Linked DNA regions of Homo sapiens: region 1 is linked to region 2. Evidence: promoter capture Hi-C in human tissues and cell types (Jung and others, 2019). All regions are on one chromosome and are shown on one strand. Each heading gives the region's core, a stretch centred on a gene start or on the middle of the fragment in contact. The rest is flanking DNA. Distances are from core to core; before and after follow the strand shown. Region 1 overlaps FAM3B (FAM3 metabolism regulating signaling molecule B). Region 2 holds the start of MX2 (MX dynamin like GTPase 2).

Region 1 (3,810 bases), core at 1,270-3,769, 40 kb after region 2:
AGGTTCTTAGAAGTAAAGGATGAACCTTAAAACACGTGCACTCAGACCACGGCCCAGAGAGGGATGCTGTTACTAAATATACCTGCTGAATTAATAAATAAATGGACTTTCACAGTAGGCATTTCCTTCGGCGATAATTCAGTCTGTCCCAGAATGTGTATTGTAAAATAAGATTGAAACCAGGAAGTAAAGAACATAGTGATCAGTGTGACTTACAGATAATCTATGTATAAAGCACAAGGACCTCGTTTTCCTTGTTTCTTCCCTGTTCCTGTGACTTTACTGGCCACTGGATGAATCCCTTTGGTCCTGGCCATACTCTCGCCCTTGTGTAACCACAGCCTGCCCAGCTGTGGCTGATCATGGCCTTGCAGGAATGAGGGCCTGGGGTATCAGAGCTTCTACTGTTTCAAGAGATGCTCTAACATGGAGTTTTATGGGAGATCTCTTGATTTTGAAATACTTGTCCATATTTTATGTGTTTTGCTTTTAGACAAATCTTGTCTCTGACAGGTCTGTCTCTGGGCCCCCAGTTTGCAACTCATGTGCTGTGGACTGAATGTGTCCCCCTGAAATTCATATGTTGGAACCTAATCCCCAGAGTGCTGGTGTTAGGAGGTGGGGCCTTTGGCAGATGAAGCCTTCAGGAATGGGAGTAGTGCCCTTATAAAAGGAGCTTCAGAGACCTCGTTTGCCAGAAGGAGCCATCCATGAAGCAGAATGCAGGTCTCCACCAGACATGAAATCTGCGGGTACCTTGATCTTGAACTTCCCAGCCTCCAACACTGTCAGAAATAAATGCGTTGTTTATAAGGCCCCCAGTCTATGGTGTTCTCTTACAGTAATCTGGGTAGACTAAGTCATGATGCTCCCAAACTGGCACACAGCCCTCAGAACCCAGCATGGCCCACTCCCTTGCTTCACTGAGATGCTTCTCAATTGTCACCTCCTTCTCAGAGGCTTTCCCCACCCATCCTCTCTCGAATCTCATTTGTTCATGCGTTAAGCTGTCACCTCCCCTCACTAGGGTATCAGTGCCAAAGGGGCAGGGACCTCGTGGGCTTGTCCTCCGTCTCTCCTTAGCTCCTGGACATGCCCAGCACACAGCAGGCTCTCAGAAAACCCACCTTGATTGTGGGGAAGGACAGAAAGCAGCCGCCCTACAGAGAGCTGGGCCTTTCCTAAGCTGATGGTTGAGGCCGTGTGTTCACCGACATACAATGTCTGCCCTTTCTTTCACATCTACTCAATTACTAGCTTTTGCTTCCCAAGACTTTACAGAAGATTTTCCAACAGCTCTTCAGTCCGACAGAAACCTTAAAATGATTCGGGATCTCAGAACCTGGACCCTCCTGTGCTTCCCAGGGGAGGAAGCCAAGATCTGGGCGGAAAGAGCACAGTTCAAGGTCTGGCTGCAGGTTTGTGCTGGTAACCAGAAGCCACACTGTTCTAGTCTCACATGGGGTCAGCAGCGGCACGTGCCTTGGAATGGCGTGGGACCTAAATGAGTAACTGCAAAATGCTTCTCTCCTCCTCCTTCCTGATATAAAGCCGTCAGGGCCCCCCAGCCTCCAGCTGGGACAGAAACCACCACTCCTCCCTCTGCACACAAGCCATGAAGGCAGCCGTCTGCCCCAAGCACGGCACTCACCTTTGAGGACAGGCCTCTCCCCGATGCTGCGGATGCTATAGGCAGCACTGGACAGGGGTGCATCTGGAATGAGCTCTGCGAGCAGGTACCCCGAATACCAGGCACACAAGGAGGCGAAGACCACGAACACCACCTTGAGCAGGCCTGCAGAGAGGACACCAAGCAGCTGCTGTGAACGACTTGGTGGCGGCCCTGGCCCTTGGCCCTCCCCATCCCCCCTGTGGCTTTTCATCCCGGCCCAGTGTCAGGGGACTGCGCTATAGGCACTGTGCTCCTGGGAGGAGGCTCCCAGGGTGGGAGGCGGTGTCAGGACCTTTGAAGTAGACAGTATCAGAGAATACAAACAAGACAGGAATGCTTTCCAGGGCAAGTTGTATTTGCTGTTGGTTTAGGTCTTAACTTAACCAACAAACGTCCTTGAACGTTTATGTCAAAGCAGCTAATCAAGCACCTTGTGAGCCAGCATGCCCAACGTGAACCTGAAAAAACAAAAGCGCCTCATTCCCTTTGTGAGACACAACTGGATTTGAGCACGCTCCTGCAATTACATTGAAACCTTCAGGGGTAAAGCTCTGTCTGTTTTGTTGATTTCCATATCACCAGCACTGGGAATAGTAGCCGATGCCCAGCAAGCATGCAACGTATTCCTGCTGGATCAAGGCCTGGCCCCGTAATACTGGGAAAAAGTCCCCAAACCTGTTCTATCATCCCGGATGTGCCTGCTGGGCCAGTCAAGGTTCCCAGTGACAGAAAGTCCGTGGAGATATCTTTCTGGTTGATTGGCAACAATATCTTACTTCTCTTGTTTGACATGAGTGGCACGATTTCCAAGGAAAAGGCATTGATCTCCTCCTGGGTCACCAGAGGCCTGGGGGGTGGCTCTCTGTCTTTTCATTGGCAACCCATGGCCAGGGCTTTTAGAGTTTGCTCCCTAAATATAGCATAGATCAGAACTTATTCAGCAGTTTGCTTACCCAGATTGCTACGATGCAGGGATAACCACAGGCCCTGAGTAGGATGGGTACTGGGGTATGTGCCCAGTGCATTTAAATATGTGCTAATAGGGACAGTCCTAAGAAGTAAGAGAAGGAGGGAAGGAGGGAGAGAGACAGGGAGGAAAGAAGGAAGGAAGTGAAGGGGAAATGAGGAAAGGAGGAAAAAGGAAAGGAAGAGAAGGGAATGTCAAGTCTGAAGGGCCTGACAATGGGCCCCACCCGGGGTGCAGTTCTGGACCTCAGCTTGACTTCCAGCACCTAGAGATCATCCTTCCTTTCTCAGGAGCGCAGCTGTCCCCGACCCATGCACCGGCTATGCTGCGCCAAGGCAGCGTGTGCTATTGCTTGGAGGCCCAGCGCTTCAGCAGAGGGAGCCATGGGGATAGAACGCGATGTTTCTGGTTAGCCTTGGGGTTTGGTTTTGTTTTGCTTTTTTGAGTGCATATTTCAACACCATTTTTAAATTTCGAATTTCCAAACTGCTAAGATTGTTAGACTAGTAAGCACAGGTGGTTTCCTCTGGGGAGAGGCCCAAGGCAGTGTGATCAGTGCAGTTTTCAGGACTGGAAGGTCATCTCAAAGCAGATAAACCAGACACAGAAAACAAAATGAGACAGGTGCAGGCTTGCAGGCCCCTCTCCCGCAGCTGCGCCAACGGTTGTGCTCAGCCACCTGCGGGCGCTGCACTCCCGGGCTCACTCCTCTGCAGGAGTGATCTCTGCCTAGAGGGTGCTCTCCCCTACACAGCCCAGCCACAGCGCCCACACAGACACCACAGATGCTTCCCTCCAGGGCCACCCAGCATGCCTGTGACACCGCGTGGGTCGCTGATTTTCCAGAAAATTCTGTTGGATGAACAGAGTGCAGAGTGGGCTAAGACAGCAGCAGAACACGTTCAAAGGAAAAGGCCGTGCCCTGTATTCTGTGCATGTGGGTCGTAGCTGGACTGTTTCATCCAAGTGTTGTATTTGGAGAAGGAAACTGGCTAACCAGACAATGTTCAGGGGCTCTTCTAGACAACACGCCACACCTGAGATCCTGAGCAACAAGCTGCTGTTTAGCTTGGAGAAGGCTGAAAAGGAACATTATTTACCTTTTGAATGTGTAACAAGCAGCTACATGAAGGAATAGGTAACGGTGGCCCCAGCTGAACAAAAACAAACA
Region 2 (4,419 bases), core at 1,405-3,904:
CATACTTAGTAAACTTCCATATATATGTATATATTTATTTTTTTATATTCCATTAGTTCTGTCCCTCTAGAGAACTCTGACTAATACAGGGAGCCTAGTTCAACCCATAACAGGTACGTAGTGACTGAAAGTAGTACAGCAAGAAAATCAGCCCAGGCCCCACCTCCTGCAGCGCTGCCCCGCCCCATCCCTGTCCCTGTCCACGCTTGAGGAGCCGGTGCCTGTCCCCGATGCCCAGGATGTGCTTAGTCCATCTTCCACCAGGGTCCTCAGGAGCCTGAGAGTGTGGTGAAAAGGGCAGCCTGGTCACTGTATTGATTTCTATTGAGGGCTGGAAAAAAACTCCAAAAGTGCAAAGGGGAGGGAGTTTCCCTACATATGCTTAAAGCCATAACTTGGCAATTCCAGAGACCTTTGCAAAGAGAAATCCCTCTTTCCAGGCGCATCACTGGAGAGGAAGGCCCTGCGGGGTGAAGGCCCAGGAAGCTGGTGGTTACCCAGCTTAGGCAGCACTGAGGTGAGGGAGTCCAGGCAGAGGTGGTCAGAAGTCATGGTGAATTCATGACTGACACTCCCTGATGCCCCCGACGAAGGCAGAAGCCTCTGGCTCCAGAATGCTTTTGGGTCTATCATCCCCCCAAATTCTCAAGAGAGCCTGTCCTGCAGATGAGGAAACTGGGCCATGGGGAGATGCTGGAGGCCTTGTGGGGGCCCCAGCCCAGGGCTGGGAATCGGGTCTCCACTGCTGTCTCTGACCTGCACCTGACACTGCATCCCAGGGTGTTGAGATTGGAGGACAAGCACACACATTCCCTGCTGAGTTTGGAAGTTTGACTGAGACTGCCAGGATCACGTAAGCACCCCTGGGAAGGATGGAAATGGCTGTGCCGGACATGGTGGTTCCCGCTGAAGTCTAAGGCAAGCTGCGTCTCCCACACGGGCATAGCCACTATTGCTGGCTTGCAACCAGTCCGAGAGCTCTGCCGGGTCCTGGGCACCAGGGGCCACTCTGCTGTGTCCCTTTGCTCCAGTCCCAATGTCACTCGCATGGTGCAGGGTCATGGCTGACCAAGCACTGGCACTGAATGCGACCTTATCTCCCCGGGCTCACCTCCTTTCTTTTTAAGACCGCTTGTTTTTCACCCACTCAAAGATATATATTGAGCACTAAGTCCTTGAGATACATATCGAGTCAGGCAGACAAAGATCTCTGGGGGAGCTTGCATTCTAGGGCAGGGGCTAAACCTAAATAAAGCTCACATACATCCTGGCCAGACGCAGGGACTCACACCTGTAATCCCAATGCATTGGGAGGCCGAGGCAGGAGGATCACTTGAGCCCGGAAGTTTAAGGCTGCAGTGAGCTATGATGGTACCATTGCACTCCAGCCTGGGAAACAGAGCAGGAAGACCCTGTCTCAAAAAAGAAAAAGAAAAAAAAATTGTACATCCGAAGGGAGTCAAAAGTGCTTCAGGGGTTGGCGCGGGGCTGGGAAGTAGAGCAGAGTAAACGGAGGAGAGGGTGCGAGGAAAGATAGCTTGGAATCCTGATCTTTTTAAACAGCTAGAGACAACATTCTAAACACAAAATGAGAAAGAACAGTGTTCAAAAGGTGTCATCAAAGCCGAATGGGGTGGCTTACGCCTGTAATCCCAGTGCTTTGGGAGGTTGAGGCGTAAGGACTTCTTGAGCCAGTGAGTTTGAGACCAGCCTGGGCAACATAGAGAGCCCCTGTCTCTACAAAAAGAAATAAAATTAACCAGGTGTGGTGGTGCACACCTGTAGTCCCAGCTACTTGGGAGGCTGAGGTGGGAGGATCCCTTGAGCCCGGGAGCTTGAGACTGCAGTGAGCCATGATCACGCCACTGCACTCCAGCCTGGGGAACAGAACGAGAACTTCTCTCAAAAAAAAAAAAAAAAAAAAAAAAAAGAAAAAAAAACTGCGTCATCAATACCACCATGTCTCCTTTCCGCTCTATATCAATTATAAAATGGACTTCAGCCCCCAGAGTGCAGGCGATCCAGGGTGCAGTGGTCCAGAGTGCTGGAGTTGGCCCCTACTGGCTGGGAACTGGCCACGGTGGGAGCATTCACACCATGAGAACGGAAGAGAATCGGCAAAGGCTAGAAATCAGGCACCACCCTCTGCCCTGCCCCGCCCCATGAGAGCCAATTTCCCAGCATATCACCGTCACTAAGGTTACGTCAGAGCATCACAAATACCACAAAAGAAGGAACACTTGAAACCCTCCGAGACGACTTTTCGGGCACAAAGCTCCTTACTCAACCCCCAGACTTTGTAGGACGCTGAGCAAAGCTGTCCTAAAAACCACCCCTTTGCGTCCACCCGACTTTTGGCCAGATCAGGATGGAGGCCACCCTGTCCCCAGGGCCAGCCACTTCCCCTCCAGAGCCTCTTTGTCTGTGCACAAGGCTACTGTGGGCTGGTGGCAACATGGGCCCTTTCTGCTCCTCACACCAGAATCTTATCTTTGTGGCTCCTGCCTCCCAGCACAAGCCACATTCACCAAGCAGATGTCACGTTACTCAGGAAATATTTTTTAAACACGCATCTGCTGTGCATCAGACACAAAGCAGCCCTCCCTGCACCGGCCCCGCTCTTACCGCTGCACGTTCAGGATGGAGAAATCATCTCTTCCCTTTCCTCCACTTCACTTTTATGTGGCATATGAACCACTCCCTCCCCTGCTCCGTCATCAACAAACAGGGAGAGAAATGAAACTACTTGATCTGGCCACAGAAATGAAACTGAGTTATCAGCGTGCTCTCCAGATGACTCACAGAGTGGTCCCCAAACTCCAGCTGCATCCGAATCCTGGGAGAGCTGTGGAGACGGGGCGGCTGTCCCCCCACCCCCGCCAGAGAGTCTGATCTGTCAGGTCTGGGCTGGGCCTGAGAATCAGCATTGCTAACAGATTCCAGGGGAGGCTGGCATGGGGGCAGCTCAGAGTGGCTCAGTCACTGGAAGGTTCTGCCCTGACAGTGCCATCCAGTACCACCTGTGTGGCTCTGAAATGTGACTACTGCGACCAAGGAACTGGACTTCGAACTCCATGTAATTTGAATGAATAGCCACGTGTGGTTCGTGTATCGGGCCTCACAGATGCACTCCTGTTACAGCCGAGGACATGCTCTCAGGTACATGATCTGGACGCTCTGAGCTGTCCTGCTTAGCTTCATGCCTGAGCCGCACCTGACAAATGTCACCTCTCCCCTCATTAGGTGCGGAAAACCCAAAGAAGGAGGGTCAACAGCTTTCTCCAAGCACCCGTGCCTGAGGTCCCCGCCGCAAAACCAAGACGGTTTTCTTCCCATTGGAGATAAGGAGGCCCCAGGACAAACCCCAGGCTCCGGAACTCAGCCCTGAGCCAGCTGCATGTCATCTTTCTGGTCCTCAGTTACTTTTCACCTGCAAAAGTGAAGGTGCACAACCGCATGCTCCCTAAGGCTTCCTGCTCTGTGACCAAAGTCAAGGAGGGCCAGGCATTCCCATCACCAGAGCCAAGAGGTCTGGGAACCTCCAGGAGGAGCCCTCCAGACACCGGGGAGGGGACCAAGCCTCTCAAGGACTGGCAGTGATGGCTGGGAGGGAGGAAGCAGGCTCTCAGCTCTCCTATCCACCCGTGATCCTCTCCCAGACATCAACACTATACGTTTAAAAAAACTCCTGAGCTCCTCTTGGCTAAGTCATTGTAGTGACTTCCCTTGAGTGCAGGCTTAACTTTACGGAAGATATTTAGAAACTTAACATGTTTTTCAAAACCTTGGCATTAGAAATATTAACACCAGGAGATCATCGTCAGGATCACCTATCCCTGAACCACTTCTCTTCCCAAGAGCCCGGGCGGACAGAGGCTGAGGAGTGAGGGGAGGAATGTGAATCTCAGACTTGGCAGCGTGATGTGACATTCGGTTTCACTAGGAATGTCTTTCACAACAGGGCCTGGGCCGGCCTACTGCTTCAAGGAAGGCACAAAGAAAGGCCTCAGAGAAGCCGGACAGAGGGACACGAGCAGCTCGGGCCAGCTCAGGGGACCCTCCACCCTCTGTCAAGGCAGCATCCCCCTCCTGCACGCCCCTCACCAGCAGCCCTGGGAAGGACCAGAGGTGCCTGCGCATGCAAACTTCAAGGACAGGGTTCTTGCGTTCTGAGCACTAAAGCCCTGAGGGTGAATGAATGTCCCACGCAGCATCCAAGCACAGGGGCCGGGGCCAGAAAAGATGCTGCTGCTCAGGCCTCGGTCACAGCCGCTGGGCGGAGCTCTTCCCTCAGCTCCACATCAGGGAGCGTTACAGTGTGCAGCTTGGTAAAGAGGCGAAGTCCAGAAGCCCCAGTGCCCGCCTCCTGCCCTGGCACGCTGACTCTATGGAAAGCGCCAGCGCCTCTGTGTGCTGATG

Evidence for each region. The method cuts DNA at HindIII sites, captures the fragments that hold promoters and counts their contacts. A contact is called where the count stands out against the background at its distance.
Region 1: a fragment that was not itself captured here is called in contact with the fragment with the promoter of MX2 in region 2 in 1 of the 25 tissues and cell types used here (spleen).

What each region holds. Positions count from the first base shown.
Region 1 is chr21:41,320,908-41,324,717 of GRCh38, reverse strand. It overlaps FAM3B (FAM3 metabolism regulating signaling molecule B), which reads right to left. Exons shown (of 8, transcript NM_058186.4): 2 at 1,652-1,795. Among named protein-coding and RNA genes, the nearest start is that of FAM3B, 6.0 kb to the right of the region's middle. The HindIII fragment of the contact is 6,637 bases long and covers 1-3,810 here.
Region 2 is chr21:41,360,262-41,364,680 of GRCh38, reverse strand. MX2 (MX dynamin like GTPase 2) reads right to left here and starts at 2,654. Exons shown (of 14, transcript NM_002463.2): 1 at 2,626-2,654. RefSeq lists a silencer at 71-120 and enhancers at 2,110-2,949, 2,970-3,229. The HindIII fragment of the contact is 34,961 bases long and covers 1-4,419 here.